Regions from separate parts of the Homo sapiens genome. Here regions 1, 2, 4 and 5 are each linked to region 3. Evidence: promoter capture Hi-C in 16 types of primary human blood cells and fetal thymus (Javierre and others, 2016). All regions are on one chromosome and are shown on one strand. The core of a region is centred on a gene start or on the middle of the fragment in contact, and the rest is flanking DNA. Distances in the headings are between cores, read along the strand shown. Region 1 overlaps ZNF283 (zinc finger protein 283). Region 2 has its middle 6.1 kb from the start of ZNF404. Region 3 holds the start of ZNF180 (zinc finger protein 180). Region 4 overlaps ZNF45 (zinc finger protein 45). Region 5 overlaps ZNF221 (zinc finger protein 221).

Region 1 (3,285 bases), core at 54-2,553, 650 kb after region 3:
AGACCATGATGCTGCCATTCCATCATAGCTAACAACCAGACATGGTGACTGAAATTCTCTTTTGGTTATAGCAGCAGTTCCCAATGCAATTTCACCCACCTACAAAGATAATAGGTCATGGGAATAAGTATTTCAACAGTGAAGTTTGCCATACACCAGTTTAAACAAAGTTCAACCATTTTCTTCACTAGAATACTCCTTAGTCTTTTTTTATTTTTATTTTTTTGAGACGGAGTCTCGCTCTGTCGCCCAGGCTGGAGTGCAGTGGCGCAATCTCGGCTCACTGCAAGCTCTGCCTCCCGGGTTCACGCCATTCTCCTGCCTCAGCCTCCCCGAGTAGCTGGGACCACAGGCGCCCGCCACCACGCCCGGCTAATTTTTTCTATTTTTAGTAGAGACGGGGTTTCACCGTGTTAGCCAGGATGGTCTTGATCTCCTGACCTCGTGATCCGCCCGCCTCGGCTTCCCAAAGTTCTGGGATTACAGGCATGAGCCACCGCGCCCGGCCGTCTTTTTTTTTTTTTCACTTCTCTTTAGTCTTTTGATAAGCTGGTGAGGTGCTTTTGCTTGTTCCTTAGGAGGGGATTTAGTAGATGCTACTTTATAAGCTTCTTTAACTGTAAAATCCTCCTTCATTGTCAAGTACTAGTAAGCACTGGTGATTCCTTGAGATATAATTTCAGAAATGTTGGGATAAGGCACCATGTCTACATTTCTTGGTTAACAGGCAAATGTGGCACCCAGAGGGAGTGGCATAATAGCCAGTTACCAATAATATATCCTGTTAAAACTCCCAAAGTACTCTGCTTTGTGTTACAGTTGATTATTAAGAGTGCAACTGTTGGCTTTTTATGCCTTTGAAAAAGTGCAATCATGTAGAATGATGATCACTAGATGGTGAATGACTGACTGAACAGTGATATTACGAATCCCCTATGTGCACAAAATAGAGAGGTCAGGTGTAGACCTATGACAAGGAACCACAGACATTTAGTTATCAATGCATTAGTTCTGATGGAACTGACATTATTTTCAAAAAGAAATAATTTTTAAAAGGGTCGATTTCTAACTGTGTGAGTATATAAACACACACTCTATTTCTTCATAACTAACCTGCCTTGATGCTAGCACTAAATCATGACAGGCACCTGGTTGAAAGTGGTTGCAAGAAGCCATCAATTTTAAGATGCATTGTGATTTCCAAATAGTAAAATATAGCCAGGCGCAGTGTCTCACACCTGTAATCCCAACACTTTGGGAGGCTGAGGCAGGTGCAGGAGTTCAAGATCAGCCTGGACCAACATGGCAAAACCCCATCTCTACTAAAAATACAAGAATTAGCCAGTATGGTGGTGCACACCTGTGTATCCAGCTACTTGGGAGGCTGAGGCACGAGAATCACTTGAACCCGAGAGGTGCAGGTTGCAGTGAGCCGAAATCACACCACTGCACTCCAGCCTTGGTGACAGAAAGAGAGATCCTGTCCCAAAAAAAAAAAAAAGTAAAATACATACCATATGATCACACATTTCCAAAGATCATTGATCAAGGCTGACCAATCCTATTAGGTATATAATGGATCTTTATAACAGACAACTCCAGTAGTTACCATAAGTGATCAAACTTGGCACTGGTGATACTGGGGGAAATGGATACTATCTGCTTCTGAGGTATTGCAAGATGAAGTACACATCACCATCTATGAAGTGTTCTGGTAAAAAATGTTTAAGCCTCTATTTCCAACTTCATGTTACGAGAAATGTGAAGGAGAGGCCCATATCAAATTTCACCATGAGGAATGAAACTAATGTGTGACATTCTATAAAACAGCTTTCCTAAACTCTTCAAAAGTCTGGATTTTTTCAAGTCTCATTTTTTTAGCTCAGCTTAAGGGATAAACTCTGAATTAAAATCCCCTCAAATTCTTTATACTGTACTAGATCTTATCCAGAATGAACTATCTGAAATTCAAATGGATGAGTGGTTATGGGAAGCTTTTCTGAATTCATTCCTCAAAACGGTTGTGCCTCTCCTAAGAATTCACCAGTAGTAATACTAATAATAAAGACAATATGAACAATAGCTAATATGTATTAAGCATAGGCTACATACCAGATACTCTTCCAAGGATATGATGCATACTAAATCCATCTAATCTCTGTAACAGCATTATTAGTTACCATCAGCATTTGAAACATCATGTCCAGAAGAGATAAGCATTTTGCTCACCATCCTACAGGTAGTATGGAGGTGAAATGGTGATGACAGTATGGTATTTGCCATGGATAAGGGTTTTCCTACATTTGTTACATTAACAGAGTTACTCTCTAGGATGAACTTACTGAAGTTTAACAAAGACTGAATAGTGTTGGAAGGCTTCTGCACATTTAACATATCTGGTATAAATTATCTTATGCTGTTACAGGCATTAGAAAATTTTGATTCCCTCATTTGCCAAATCTTGCTATAGTATGAATATTCTGCTATTCTAATCAGAGAGGTGCAAGTGAAGAATTTCTTATTTAAATTGTCACTTGTCTCATGTCTTGAAAAGTGTGAGTCTTGTCTCAAATTATTTCTGGGAAAGAACAAACTTTGTTTTCAATTCTCAATCATTTATGGACTGATAATTTTGTAAAACAGAATGTTATGGAAATGTCAAATTGCTATAAAAGTTCCAAATATTTACTCACTTTCCACGTTTATCTCACAATTGACAGATGACAATTTTATGACTGCACCAGTCTCTGGATAATAATTTGGGTAGCATTTGTCTAAAGGCCTTCCTATAATTCTAATTCAAATGATTTCTCATTTGGATGAATTCTCTGATGTACTCTAAGATATTTACTGTGTCTATAAGCCTTCCCAAATTCCTTATGTGCATAGGATTACACAGCAGTATGAATTCTCTGATGTGCAGCAAGAACTGAATTAAGTTTAGGTCCTTCCCACATTCCTCCTATTTAAACTCTTTTTAACAAATACCAATTATTTGATGTTAATCAGACCTTATGTCATGAATGAAGATCTTCACACATTCCTTACATTTAAATGATTTTACATCAGTATAAATTGATATCCAATAAGACTGTACAGAAGTCTAAAGGCCTTTTCATATTAATTATATTCAAAATATTTCTCACTAGTATGAATTGCTGGATAGCAAGATAATTGCCCATAAACAGAAATGAATGGCTTTTGCACAACCCTTACATTCACAAGGTTTCTCAAGAGTAAGAGTTCTTATTATGATAAGTTGTCTATACACACACACAAAATATT
Region 2 (3,266 bases), core at 138-2,637, 610 kb after region 3:
AGAGTAGACAACCTTACCTTGTTCCTGAAATCAGAAAGACAGTGGTCCATATTATGTATAATGATCCCTTTATGTACAATGGTAGTTGTAGTTTTTATTCTTTAGGTCCCCTTTATCAGATGAAAGAAGTTCCCCTCTAGTCCTGGTTTGCTGAGAATTTTTATCATGATTAATGTTGTATATTGTTAAATGGATTATTTCTAATGAAATAATTGAATGGTTTTCTCCTTTATTAGTTAACATTGAAAGATTACATTGATTTTTTAAAAATTAAACTTATACTTGTTTGAGGTTATGGTAAAAAATTAAATTAAATGGCCTTTGAATTTCTAAAATAAAGCTCTCTTGGTCAATATGTTACTGGTTTCTCTTTGCTAATATTTGGTTTAATATGCTTGCGTCTGTGTTCATGAAACAGATATATTGTAATTTTCCTTTTATGTAATATCCTCATCTGGTTTTGATATCACAGTTATTCTGGCCTTATGACATAGTTTGTTTTTTTCTATTTTCTAGAACAAGTTGAGTTTGATTGGCATTTTTAATTTCTTAAATGTTTGGGAGAATTTGCTACTGAATCCTCTTGGCCTGACATTATTTTTGTGAGAAGATCCTTAATACAGATTTAATTTCTTTAATAAATAAAACAATATTTAGATTTTCAATTTCTTATATCAGTTCAAATTGTGTTTTCAAGGAATTTTAAAATTTCATCTACATTTTCAAGTTTATTAGAAAGTTATAAAGTTGTTCATACAATTCTGATTTTAATGTATGTAGTAAAATAGGTAGTGTTATCTTCTTTTATATTCCTGATATTGGCAATTTTTTCTTGATCAGTGTAACTAGAAGTTTATTATTCTTATTAATCTCTTCAATGAAATAGCTTTGGCTTTATTGATTTTTCTTTATTGTATATCTGGGGTTTTTTGTGTTATTGGTTACTTTTGGTATGTTATACTTTCTATAGGTTTAATTTGCTTTTCCTTTTCAAGCTTCTTGATGTATATCACTGATTTTCAACCTTTCTGTTTTGACAAAACATATATTTAAAGCTTATATCTTCATAAGCATTGGTTTACCTGCGTCTCACAAGCTTTGATATATCTTACTTTCACTATCATTTAACTCAAAATATTTTCTAGCTTCCATTGATTTATTATTTGACCAGTAACTATTTAGAAGTATGCCTTTTACACAGGCACATCTCATTTTATTGCATGTTGCTTTATTGCACTTTGCAAATATTGCAATTTTTACAAATTGAGATTTGTGGTAACCCTGCATTCAGCAAGTATATTGTCTCTGTTTTTCAACAGCATGTGCTCATTCTGTGTCTCTTTGTCACATTTTGTAATTCTAGCAATATTTAAAACTTTTCCATTATTTTTATGGTGATCTGTGATCAGGGTCCTTGGTGTTACTGTTGTAATTGCTTTGGGACACCGTGAGCCACACCCATATAAGACGGTGAACTGAATGAATATATGTTATGTGTCTTCTGACTGCTCCACCGACCAGCTATTCCTGTCTCTCTTCCTCTCTTTGTTTTCCTGAAACACAACAATATTGAAATCAGGCCAGTTAGTAGCCCTACAATAGCCTCTAAGTGTTCAAATGAAAGGAAGAGTCCTCTGTTTCTCACTTTTAATCAAAAGCTAGAAGTGATTAAGCTTAGTGAGGAAGGCATGTCAAAAGCCAAGACGGGCCAAAAGCTTGACCTCTTGTGCCAAACAGTTAGCCTAGTTGTGAATGCAAAGGAAAAGTTCTTGAAGGAAATGAAAAGTGCTTCTCGAGTCATATGGAGATACTGCAATACAGAGAAAGATTAGTGGTCCACATAGAAGATCAAGCCAGCCACAAAATTCCCTTAAGCCAAAGCCAGAGCAAAGACCTAACTGTCTTCAATTTTGTGAAGTCTGAGAGACATGAGGAAGCTACAGAAGAAAGGTTGGATGCTAGCAGAGGTTGGTTCATGAGGTTTAAGGAAAAAAGTCATCTCCATAACATAACAGTGCAAGGTGAAGCAGCAAATGCTGATATATACGCTGCAGCCAGTTGTCCAGAAGATCTAGCTAAGATTATTGATGAAGGTGGCTACATTAAACAAAAGATTTTCCATGTAGACAAAACAGTCTTCTGTTGGAAGAAGATACCATCTAGGACTTTCATAGCTAGAGAGAAGTCAATGCCTGGCTTCAAAGGACAGGCTGACTCTCTTATTAGAGGCTAATGCAGCTGGTGACTATAAGTTGAAGGTGATACTCATTCACTATTCTGAAAATTCTAGCGCCCTTAAGAATTGTGCTAAATCTACTCTGCCTGTGCTCTAGAAATGGGACAACAAAGCCTGAATGACAGCACATCTGTTTATGGCATGGCTTACTCAATATTTTAAACCCACTGTTGAGACCCAATGCTCAGAAAGGAAAAAAAAGACTCCTTTCAAAATATTACTGCCGATTGACGTTCCACCTGGTCATCCAGGAGCTCTGTTGGGGATGTATGGAAAAGATTAATTTTGCTTTCATGCCTACTAACACAACATCCACCCTGCAGCCCATGGATCAAGGAATAATTTCAACTTTCAAGTTTCATTTTTTAAGAAATACATTTCATAAAACTCTAGCTGCCATAGATTGTGATTTCTCTAATGGATCTAGGCAAAGTGAATTGAAAAGCTTCTGGAATGGATTTAACATTCTAGATGCCATTAAGAACACTCCTGATTCATAGAAGGAGGTCAAAATGTTTAACAGGAGTTTGGAAGAAGTTGATTCCAACCCTCACAGATAACTTTGAGGGGTTCAAGACTTGAGTAGAGGAAGTAACTGCAGATGTGGCAAAAATAGCAAGAGAACTAGAATTAGACATGGAGCCTGAAGATGTGGCTGAATTTCTGCAATCTCATGATAAAACTTTAATGGATGAGGAGCTGCTTCTTACAGATGAGCAATTAAAGTGGTTTCTTGAGATGGAATCTACTCCTGGTGAAAATGCTGTGAATGTTGTTGAAATAAAAACAAACAATTTTGAATAGTACACAAGCTTAGTTGATAAAGCAGCACCAGGGTTGGAAAAGATTGACCCCAATTTTGAAAAAAGATCCCCTGTGGGTAAAATGCTATCAAACAGCATCACATGCTACAGAGAAATCTCTTGTGAAAGGAAGAGTCAATTGATGTGGCAAACTTCATTATTGCCTTTTTTTTTTTGAGACAGAGTCTCGCTCTGTCACCCAGGCTGGAGTGCAGTGGAGCGATCTC
Region 3 (3,596 bases), core at 360-2,859:
TAAAAGATCAACCACAATAACCAATAATAAGAAGCTTTGGGGATAGAGATTACATTTCAAATAGTAATAATTCATTGTTTTTAAAGGTCAGAATTTACGTGAAGAAAACTACAGGAGTGCTTTGACAAGCATTTTAAAAACTAAAAAATTATGTATTTTCATACAGCAGGGCTCCAATTTTCAGCTACCTCCCTGGTAGGATGAAAATTAACACAACTACCTCATAGGCTGATTGGGCTTGGTAATGAAATATTAAAGTGTTTAATACAGAGACAGGAACCTTTATTTAGCCAACGAATATTTATTGAGCATCTATTATGTGCCAGGTCTCTCTCTTTTTTTTTTTTTTAGGTGTTGGGGATGCAGCAGTGATCAACATCGATAAAATGCTTTTCCTTATGGAATTGACATCGTAGTGGTAGGTCGGACAGTAGACCAAATAAATAATTAAAATATATAGTGTGCTAGATAGTGAAAAGTTCTTTAGAGAAAAAAATAAAAGATGAAGGGGGAGGCACAGAGCATGTGGGGAGGGAAGCGTTTGCTTGCAAGTTCACAACGGGTGGTGGGGCAATGCCTCATGAGAAGATGATATTCCCCTAATTACCAGACGGTGAGAGCCAAATGAATCCCTCAGGAGAGGCTGCTAGGGAGTGCAAAGAGCACCTGCAAACGACCAGGGGCTGGAGTCTGCTGGATCTGTTGGAGAATGGGGAAAATGTGCCAAGCAAATGGGCAAGAAATGAGGGCAAAGAGAAAAGGGGACTACGCCTGTAATCCCAGCACTTTGGGAGGCCGAGGGCGGATCACCTGAGGTCAGGAGTTGGAGACTAACCTGGCCAACGTGGTGAAACCCCGTCTCTACTAAAAATACAAAAATTAGCCGGGCGTGGTGGCTGGCGCCTGTAATCCCAGCTATTCAGGAGGCTGAGGCAGGAGAATCGCTTGAATCCGGGAGGTGGAGGTTGCAGTGAGCCGAGATCGCGCTATTGCCCTCCAGCCTGGGCGACAAGAGCGAAATTCCGTCTCAAAACAACAAAACAAAACAAAACAAAAACAGAGAAAAGGGGAGAGGTGGGGGGAACAGATCCTTCAGGCCTTATAGGCAGAGAAAGAACTCAAAATTTAAAAATAAAATGATTATATTTTAGTATTATTAAATGTAAAAACATAGATTCCTGAAGGGTTCGGTAGACGCTCCCTCCACTGTAAAATGGGGATGTCGCAACTGTCTCACAGGTTTCCCCTAGGACTAGAGGAGACAAGGGGTCGCGCGCAGCGTCTGACAGGCAGGGGGCACCCAGAAAGGGTCCCCGCCATTTCTATTGGATTCTGACGTCACGCCAGAGCGACTCCCCATGCGTCGCTGCACTGGCCTCGGCCTCCCGGCGCCGCGGCTGGTCTTAGTGCTCCCCCTAGACCTGCACATGCACAGGTGTGGCGCCCCCCCGGGCCCCGGACGAGGACGCCCTCTTAGCTTCTGGCCCGGTCCCCCGCCCCACTTCCTTGGAGAAGCCGGAACCCCGCCTACTGACCGTCCGCGCCGCGGAGGCTTCTGGGAATTGTAGTTCTGGCTCTCCGAGCCCAAGTGCACTTCCGGGTTCGGCCACAAGAGCAGCCATTGTCCCGCGCGCGGACGCTTGCTGTCGCCGAGCAGCTCGGCCCTTCAGACTTAACCCCCAGCGGCCTTGCGGATGCTGACTAGGAGAGGGGACCGAACTAGCTTAACCCGAGTCGGCCGTGTTGCAGAATCGGGGCAGGGGGTTGCCTAACCCGAGTTCGTCCTGCCGCAGAGCCGTGCTAGGCACTGAGGCGGTGACAGGCCCAGCCTGGGCTGCGGGCCAGCGGACGCCCAGGTTGGTAGGGGCGTGGGGCAGCGCTTGGTGTCCGATGCGCGCATGCGCAGGGTCTACGCGGGAAGCTGGAAGCGGTGGTGAGTGTAGCGGGGAGACCTGGTATCTGTGCGGGTGGCGCTTTAGCCTCGGGTCACCGGGGTTGATGGAGTTACTGATACAGCTGTATATTCCGCGACTGTCCTCTGCGTGCATGCGCGGGTGCTTGGTCAGGTGGTGCTCTTGTCTGGGGCCTGAGGATGCCCAGGTTGCTGGAACACAGGGCACATGCATTGATGTAAGGGGACATCTTGAGAACTCCCCTCCTCCAATGCCGGGCTTATTTAGTGGAGGCCTGAGGATGTCCGGGTTGATGGAGTGCTCCATTGCAGATTGTGGTTTCTGGAGAGGAGGGGCTGTGCCACTGTCCCTTTACTCTTGATCAGGTATTTGGGTAGGAAGCAAAAGGTTGTAGGTAAGATTCCGAGCAGGTGGCTCTGGGCCCCTAGAGCAGACAACGCGCTTCTCCAAGGTCTGGGGGCGCTGTGGTTGGTGGAGAGACCAGATTGGAGTTGCAGATTCTTGTGCCAGAAGAGGCAGTGTTGCTAGTGAACCCTTGGTGGGAATTACCCATGGGCAGCAAACTCCCAGGCTGAAGGAGGGTATCAGGGCCTAGAAACAGGTTCTGGGCAGAGGGCCCCCTGCACGTCCTGGGGGTGTCTGAATGGAAAACAGAAACTTGAACTGATAGTAGGGACCTATGTAGGATAGTGCAGAGCTCTAGAGCATTCAAGATGGGCAGAGACTCCGGGTTGGAGATACAGAATTTAAGTCCAGGAAGGACAGAGCTGCAACAGCTGCCATCAAATTGGTAGCTGGGGAGGAAGCAGTATGTTGCCAGCATCGTTATGAAGCAGGTGTTGCTGAGACCTTTACTTGGGTACGCTATTTGCAGGCGTGAGAATGTGCAGGTTAGTAGAGGGACAGAGCCTGTGCTGCAGATTTGGTCCCGGGAAGAGCTGACTGCACAACACCCAGGCCGTCATGATTGGGCAAGAGAAGGACAAAGGGCCCAGTTCCCATTGAGCTGCTGTATCGTAGGCTCGAGAACCCCCACGCTGGCGAGTGCCCAAGTCCTGGGGCTGATTATGGAGCTGTATGCTCAAGCTACTGTTTAGTTGTTGTAGTGTCCTGGCTGCGGGCAAATAGTGGGGCAGTTGACCCCAGAACCTACACAGAGGCTGTGGGTACCTGAGATGTCCCAGGCAGGTTGAGACACAGGGTGAGGGATGTAGATTGTTGACTCAGGAGCATGGTGTGCCCCCAGACGGGCAGAGGAGCCAGGTCCTGGATGCAGATTGTGAGCACGAACCTGCTCTGTGGCTGTATCAGTAGGAGGGAGTCTAGGTGGGTGGCCCGTGTGCAGTGGCTGTGGAATAGAGGCCTGGGGGCTCCAGTTTGGATCTGGTCTTAGGAGGCACGGGGCTGCTCCAGCAACACTCTGCACGTGTGCTGGCATTTGGGCAGATTGGGGAGGCATGGGCAGTCCTAGGACCCTGATTCTGCCTGAGGATGCCCAGGTGTGTGGGGGGGAGCAGCTGCAGAGGGGCGGGACTGTGTCAGGCACCCCTTGTGCACACACACCGGTGTTTGGTTGGGAAACAGGAGGCCGGAGATGAGTTTTAGACAGAGGGTGCTGGGGTCTTTGTGTGATTGGAACCCTGATCACAGCCTGATGGTGCCCAGTTTGGTGGAAAGACAGGA
Region 4 (3,736 bases), core at 1,221-3,720, 580 kb after region 3:
CTCTCCTTTCCAGAAGTCCTTCAGTGTTCTCCTGCTGACTTGCAGATAATTTTGTGACTTGAACGTCATCATGGTTTGAATTCTGCCTTCCTGCCCATCTCTTTCTGCCTGTTATTTGTCTTCACATCATGACATTTGTTCTCTGGGAGTTTTATAGTGATTTGGATTCTCTGGCTAATAGAGCTCAGTCACCCTCCAGGGCTCAGATTAAGCTACGTTTGTGTAGAACCCCTGCATTCCACTGTGGGCTTATGAGCCCATTCCTCATGCCGCTAAAGGATGCTGTGCACTACTCTGGCATTTAGCCATGTATAGTGGAATTGCCAGCTTCCTCATCACTAGACTGTGAGCATCTTGAGGCTGGGGAATTGCATCTCTTTTAGTAAGGTTCCCACAAGTCTTCACTGAGTTAATAAACTCATCTATTTAATGAAGTAGTAATAAATTCACCTGTCTAGTGCTAATTATGCAGGCAGTAAAATAGTGTTCATTCTCAGTATTTTAAGGGACACATTCTGTGGGTTCTGTAACAGTGACTCATGTCGTCGCTGACTTTGAAGAGCAGAGAGTACTTTCCTAAGATGGTATTTAACAAAATCCAGAGATGCTTTTCCTTCCAAAGATGACTCTGATCTTGCCCAAGGACAGCAAATATGGTGAAAGACCTAGAGGAAAAATTTGGAAATAAAACCCTTGCTCTCCAAATCTTCCCAACTGGAGTCAGTCTCAGGGAGACTTAGACCAACTAGTCTAGTCTTCCTATATGCCTCTCCATGTCTGATGGTGGGTTCAGTCATTTCTGCTGGGCAATTACTTTGTACAGGAACTGTTTTAGGTACTTGGGATATAAAGCTGAATAAACATTCATCACAAGACAGATGGTTGATTTGCTATTATCTCTTTTTTTTCCCGAGGCGATGGAAATATATCCCCTGCAAAACATTCTTACTGAGCAGAGGTTGCTGGGCAAATATAGAGTTAGAACAAAGTGAATTACAAATTCTAAAAGAGTATTTCAGGCTGGGTGTGGTGGCTTACGCCTATAATCCCAGCACTTTGGGAGGCCAAGGCGGGTGGATCACTTGAGGTCAGGAGGTCGAGACCAGCCTGGCCAAAATAGTGAAACCTCATCTGTACTAAAAAAACAAAAGAAACAAAAAAAATTAGCCAGGAATGGTGGCGGGTGCCCATAATCCAGCTACTGGGGAGGCTGAGGCAGGATAATCTTTTGAACCCGGAAGGCTGAGGTTGCAGTAAGCTGAGATCATTCCACTGCACTCCAGCCTGGGCCACAGCGCAAGACTCCATTTCAGAAAAATAAATAAATAAGTATTTCTTCTAAGATTGGAAGGTTTTATGTTTCCCTTTTCAATAGTAAGGGTTCTTCTATCTGAAGTAAGAGAACTAAGAATAATTTACTAATAAATCAAGCAGTAATTAACTAATACTAAGCTTTTAATCTGGGTATTTTACTCGTTTCCACCCTCCATAGAATCAGAATCATACCCTGAGAGCTACAAGAACTCCATTTTTCACTGTGCAGAGGCTCTCTGCTGAAGGGTCAAGTGGAATCTGGAATCCAGCCCATGTTTCCCCATCATCAAGCCATGTGAAGCTGCAGACTCCGTGAGTGCCTTAGTCCATTTGTGCTGCTATAACAAACAATACCATAGGCTGGGTGGCTTAAACAACAAACCTTTATAACTCACAGTCCTGGAGACTGGGAAGTCCATGATCAAGTCACTGGCAAATCCAATGTCTAATGAGGCCACTCTTACTGGTTCGCAGAAGCTGTTGTCTTGTATCTTCCTGGGAGGAAGAGAGAAAGAGCTAGGTTACTTGCTTTTCTTACAAGGAAAGCAATCCCATTATGGAGGCTTCACCCTCATGACCTAATTACCTCCTAAAGGCCCCACCTCCCAATAACATCACATTAGGGCTTCAACATAAGAATTTTGAGGGGACACAGACATTGGTCCACAGCAGCAAGGGAGGGGCTCCCTGACTGTTTCATGTAAAGCATCTGCATGGGTTTATGTGTAACTTCTATTGATTGTTTAAGCTGCCAGAAACTGTTCCACATGTTTTGTGTATACTTAGTCACTTTCACTGACCTTCCTATGAAGTAGGTATTATTATTACATCCAGTTTATAGATTAGACATTAGAGCACAAAGTACTAGCAAGTTGGACATGCCTGTATTCCAGTACTGGTGGGCTGGTTCTGGAGTCTAGACTGTTCACAACTCTGTTCTCTACTCCCTCAAGCAGCTCCCTTGGCTTCAGAGTCCAATCTCCATTTCTGTGTCTGTCTTTTACCCCTAACTCTGGAGCCCTCATTTCTCCTTCCATGAGATCTTAGACTCCCATCTGCTTATTTTTGTCTTTAGAAGCAACAGAGAGACAAGATTTAGAATACTGGCTCTGGTATGAAAGCTGGATTCAGGTACTGTTCCTGCCTCTTGACCTCACCAAGCCTCAGCTTCCTCGCCTGTTAAATGGATACAATTGTCGTCATTATCATCTGTTGAGAACTCCCTAAAATGCCAGGTACTATGCCAAGGGCATTGCATAAATTCACTCATTGATTCCTCACAGTAATCCTATGATTAACATCCTGTTTTCATTTCCCTTCTTATAGCTGAGCATAGGCACAGAAGTTTAGGTGTTTGGACCAAGGTCACACAACTGATACAACAGTAGCTTCTTCACAGGTATGTGTGAAGTACCTTAATGAAACATCATGTGCCAAGTTCTTCATAAGGTCCCTAATATGTATTTAGTTAAATATCACCATTTTTGTTGTTATTATTGTGCTTCCTATAGCTTGTTAATTTCAGTGACATTATCTAATTTATAGTTGCATAAATCTTGCAGAGTCATGATTTTTTATTAAATTTTCTCTGTCTCTATGATAGTCTTTTTAAGGCCCTACTGTTAAAGTAAATTTTGCAAGGTCTTTTTTTTTTTTTTTAGATTTTTTTTTTTTCTCTTTAGAGATCACTCTGTTGGCCAGGTTGGTCTTGAACTCTTGGCCTCAAGCAGTCCTCCCACTTTGGCCTCCCAGAGTGCTAGGATTACAGGCATGAGCCACTCTACACAGCCAAATTTTGCAAGGTCTTATACCTTTTAGAAACCAGTCCATATAGTCAAATTCATAGAGATAACGTGGTTATCAGGGGCTGGGAGGGGGAATGGGGAATTATTACTTAATGGGTACATAAAAAATTCTGATGATGGATAGTGGTGATGGCTGCACAACAATGTAAATGTACTTACTGAATGTAACCACTTAAAAAATGGTTAAAATGGTAAATTTTATGTTACATATTTTACTATCAAAAAAAGCAGTCATCTATGTACAGTAGTCCCCCCTTATCCACAGCAGATACCTTCCAAGTCCCCCAGTGAATGACTTAAACCTCAGATATTACTGAACCCTAAATATACTATGTTTTTCCTTTACCTACATACTTATGATAAAGCTTAATTTATAAATTAGGCACAGTAAGAGACTAACAACAATAACTTATAATAAAATAGAATAATGATAAAATACTGTAACAAAAGTTCTATAAACATGGTCTCTCTCTCTCTCTCAGAATATCTTACTGCACTGTACTCACCTATTTTTGGGCCATAGTTGACTTCAGGTAACTGAAACCACAGAAAGCAAAACTATGGATAGGAAGGACCACTGTAATCTTAAATACTATTGCAAAAGCCTCAAATTAAGT
Region 5 (3,522 bases), core at 775-3,274, 530 kb after region 3:
TCTCTTTCCTCCTCTTGGTCTATTCTACAATTGATACTTGTGATTGCATTGTTAAGTTCTTGTGTTGTGTTTTTCAGCTCCATCAAGTCAGTTATGTTCCTCTCTAAACTGGCTATTCTGGTCATCAGCTCCTGTATTGTTTTATCATGATTCTTAGCTTCTTTGCATTGGGTTATGCCATGCTCCTTTAGCTCAGCAAAGTTCATTACCCACTTTCTGAGGCCTACTTCTGTCAGTTCAGCCATCTCAGCCTCAGCCCAGTTCTGTACCCTTGCTAGAGAGGTGCTGTAGTCATTTGGAGAAGAGGCGCTCTGGCTTTTTGAGTTTTCAGCATTTTTTTGTGTTGACTTTTTATCATATCTGTGGGCTTACCTACCTTCAATCTTGAGGTTGCTGACCCTTGAATGGGGTTTTTGTGGGGTCTTTTTGTTGATGTTCTTGTTGTTTTCTGCCTGTTTTTAACAGTCAAGCCACTGACTGTTAGCAACTGTAGGGCTGCCACAGTTTGCTGGGGTCTGCTCGAGACCCTAGTTGCCTCCGTTTTTCCCGTACCTGGAGGTGTCACCAGTGAAAGCTGCAAAACAGCAAAGATGGCAGCCTTCTCCTTCTTTTGGAAACTCTGTCCCAGGGGGATACTGACCAGTTTCTGGCCTGAAGACTCCTGTAGGAGGTGTCTAGAGACTCCTGTTGGGAGGTCTCACTGAGTCAGGAGGAACAGGATCAGGGACCTACTTACAGAAGCAGTCCAACTGCTTTTGGTACAGCAGGTGTGCTGCGGTGGGGGAGGACCCTTCCTCACCCAGATTGCCCAGACTCTCCAAAGCCAGCAGGCTGGAACAGCTTTGTCAACCGAACCATAGAGACAGTGGTCGCCACTCCCCTGGGAGCTCCATCTGAGGTAGAGATTAGATTTCTGTCAGTATAAGCCTGGCTGGAGTGACTGAAGACCCCCCACAGGGAGACCCCACACAGTGGGGAGGAATGGATCAGGGTCCTGCTTAAAGAAGCAGTCTGGGCCAGGTGCAGTGGCTCATGCCTGTAATCCCAGCACTTTGGAAGGCTGAGGCAGGCGGATCACCTGCGGTCAGGAGTTCAAGACCAGCCTGGCCAACACGGTGAAACCCTGTCTCTATGAAAAATACAAAAATTAGCCAGGTGTGGTGGTACCTGCCTGTAATCCCAGCTACTTGGGAGGCTGAGGCAGGAGAATTGCTTGAACCCAAGAGGTGGAGGTTGCCATGAACCAAGAGCATGCCACTGCACTCCAGTCTGAGCAACAGAGTGAGACTCCATCTCAAAAAAAAAAAAAAAAAAAAAAAAAAAAAAAAGCAGCAGTCTGGGCATGATCTGGCAAAGCAGGTGTTCTGTGTTGGGCAGGGGGATCCTCTCCTTGTCCAGACAACCTGGTCTCTCCAGAGCTGGCAGGCTGGAATGCTGAGTAGACTGAACCACAGAAATGGTGGCCAGCCTTCCCCCACAGGAGCTCCCTCCTATTTCAGGCTGAAGCCTGTTGCTGTTGGTTGGTTGAAATTCCAAGCCAGTGGGTTTTGTAAGGTGCCATGGAAGTGGGGCCCACAGAATGTTGCTGCCTGGCTCCCTGGATTCAGCCCCCTTCCTAGGGGAATATAAGGATGAATCTGCCACCTTGCCAGGAATTCTGGGGCTAGAGCATGTAAACCTCCTGGGTCTCTGTGTGTGCCTGAGAGGCCGCTCTGCCAAAACTCCACACAGCTCTGTGTATCAAACCCAAGGCCCTGGTGGCATGGGCTCACAAGGAGATCTCCTGACCCGTGGGTTGCAAAGATCCTTGAGTAGCATGGTTTCCTGCGCAGGGTCGCACAATCACTCACTGCTTCCCTTGGGTGGGGGTGAGGTTTCCTTTGGCTCCATGCCACACCAAGTGGGCCATAACTCCACCCTACTTTTCTTCATTTTCTGTGGGTTGAATTGATTGCCTAGTCAGTCCCAATGAGAGAACCTAGATATTTCAATTGAAGGTGCTGAATTTATCTGTCATTTTCATTCCTCTGTATGAGTACCATGAACCATAGCTGCTTCTAATTGGCCATCTTGGTCTATCCCAGGTTTCCTCTTTTAGATACAATTTTGAAATATGTTTTCTCCTTTTGATCCTTTAATATCACATCTCTGATATTTCAAAAGATATGAAGCCCAGCCAAAGCTCTTTCTACATCTCTTACATGTACCAAACACACATACAAAGTGCCAATCAGTGTTAAGGTTGTGAAGATTCTGCAGCAAAGGTAAATGCAGCTTATATTCTAGCCGACATCAATTTTGACATGTCCATCATTAGAGATTTGTAAATGCCTGAACAAACTCCTATTCTTTCTAAGGCCTGTCTCTTGAATAACTATAATTGCCAAACTTCTGAATGAAGCCCCAAATTACAAAGGTTCTGTGCTACAGTGGTTCTAAAACCACGTGGGTATGCTGAACTATGGCTGAAACTCTGACTTTAACTTAAATATTTTCCCTCCTGAGACTGTATGAAATGTATCATCAGCATGGATTCTGTAATAAGCTATGAGATATGAACTCAAACTGAAGTGCTTACCACATGTATCAAATTTTTAATGCTTCTCCCATTGTGAACTCTCAGATGAGCTTGTAGTTGAGAAGACTATCACAGATATCACCTTACTAAGGTTTCCCTTGAAAGTGAACAGTCCAATGAAGTTGAAGACTTTGAGGCATAACTGAAGCACATGGCAATCTCCCCAAACTTCCACGGTTTCTCTGCCATATGGACCCTCTGATGCATATCAAGTCAAGTGCCTGTTGTAGTACATCCCATGCTCCTCACATTTGTATGGATTATCTCCACTGTGGACTCTTTTCTTGGTCTTTAAGATGTGATCTATGGCCGGGCGCAGTGGCTCACGCCTGTAATCCCAGCACTTTGGGAGGCCAAGGCGGGCGGATCACGAGGTCAGGAGATCGAGACCATCCTGGCTAACACGGTGAAACCCCGTCTCTACTAAAAATACAAAAAATTAGCTGGGTGTGGTGGCGGGCACCTGTAGTCCCAGCTACTCGGGAGGCTGAGGCAGGAGAATGGCGTGAACCTGGGAGGCGGAGCTTGCAGTGAGCTGAGATAGCGCCACTGCAGTCAGGCCTGGGTGAAAGAGTGAGACTCTGTCTCAAAAAAAAAAAAAAAAGATATGATCTATGTACAAAGCTCTTCCCACAGTTCTCATATTTGAATGGTTTTTCTCTGCTGTGGAGAATTGATGGGTCAGATGAGTTGAGGCCCAGCCAAAGCCCTTCCCACACTTCTCACATTTATATGGCTTTTCTCCCACATAGACTTACTGATGTAAATGAAGCTGTGAATTCTGAGTAGATCTCTTCCCACACTCCAGATTTCAATGGCTTTTCTCCACTGTGGAGTCTCTGATGTTTCAAAAGACATGAAGCCCAGCCAAAGCTCTTTCCACATTCCTTACAATTATAGGGTCGCTCTCCCCCGTGGACCCTCTGGTGCATGTCAAGATTAAA

What was found. Contacts are between HindIII fragments. The CHiCAGO score rates a contact against its expected background, and 5 or more counts as called.
Region 1: a contact is called between a fragment that was not itself captured here and the fragment with the promoter of ZNF180 in region 3, in 6 of 17 cell types (non-activated CD4 T cells, M1 macrophages, activated CD4 T cells and 3 more). The highest score is 7.7, in non-activated CD4 T cells.
Region 2: a fragment that was not itself captured here is called in contact with the fragment with the promoter of ZNF180 in region 3 in 1 of 17 cell types (activated CD4 T cells); the score reaches 6.0 in activated CD4 T cells.
Region 4: a fragment that was not itself captured here is called in contact with the fragment with the promoter of ZNF180 in region 3 in 4 of 17 cell types (total CD8 T cells, M2 macrophages, naive CD4 T cells and 1 more); the score reaches 6.8 in total CD8 T cells.
Region 5: a fragment that was not itself captured here is called in contact with the fragment with the promoter of ZNF180 in region 3 in 2 of 17 cell types (M1 macrophages and M2 macrophages); the score reaches 5.3 in M1 macrophages.

The regions. Positions count from the first base shown.
Region 1 is chr19:43,848,658-43,851,942 of GRCh38, reverse strand. ZNF283 (zinc finger protein 283) reads right to left here. Exons shown (of 7, transcript NM_181845.2): 7 at 1-3,285. Among named protein-coding and RNA genes, the nearest start is that of ZNF283, 23 kb to the right of the region's middle. The HindIII fragment of the contact is 1,386 bases long and covers 611-1,996 here.
Region 2 is chr19:43,888,470-43,891,735 of GRCh38, reverse strand. No RefSeq gene overlaps it. Among named protein-coding and RNA genes, the nearest start is that of ZNF404, 6.1 kb to the right of the region's middle. The HindIII fragment of the contact is 577 bases long and covers 1,099-1,675 here.
Region 3 is chr19:44,498,535-44,502,130 of GRCh38, reverse strand. It overlaps ZNF180 (zinc finger protein 180), which reads left to right and starts at 1,609. Exons shown (of 5, transcript NM_001278509.3): 1 at 1,609-1,856. RefSeq lists enhancers at 1,154-1,203, 1,380-1,674, 1,514-1,723, 1,734-1,793, 1,340-1,840 and 2 more. The HindIII fragment of the contact is 10,008 bases long and covers 37-3,596 here.
Region 4 is chr19:43,923,215-43,926,950 of GRCh38, reverse strand. ZNF45 (zinc finger protein 45) reads left to right here. Exons shown (of 10, transcript NM_003425.4): 4 at 1,493-1,626; 5 at 2,390-2,549; 6 at 2,641-2,713. It overlaps ZNF45-AS1 (ZNF45 antisense RNA 1), which reads right to left. Exons shown (of 3, transcript NR_184050.1): 2 at 1,697-1,809; 3 at 1-665. Among named protein-coding and RNA genes, the nearest start is that of ZNF45, 10 kb to the left of the region's middle. The HindIII fragment of the contact is 2,032 bases long and covers 1,455-3,486 here.
Region 5 is chr19:43,967,141-43,970,662 of GRCh38, reverse strand. It overlaps ZNF221 (zinc finger protein 221), which reads right to left. Exons shown (of 5, transcript NM_001297588.2): 5 at 2,954-3,522. The coding sequence ends at 3,307. Among named protein-coding and RNA genes, the nearest start is that of ZNF155, 15 kb to the left of the region's middle. The HindIII fragment of the contact is 5,043 bases long and covers 1-3,522 here.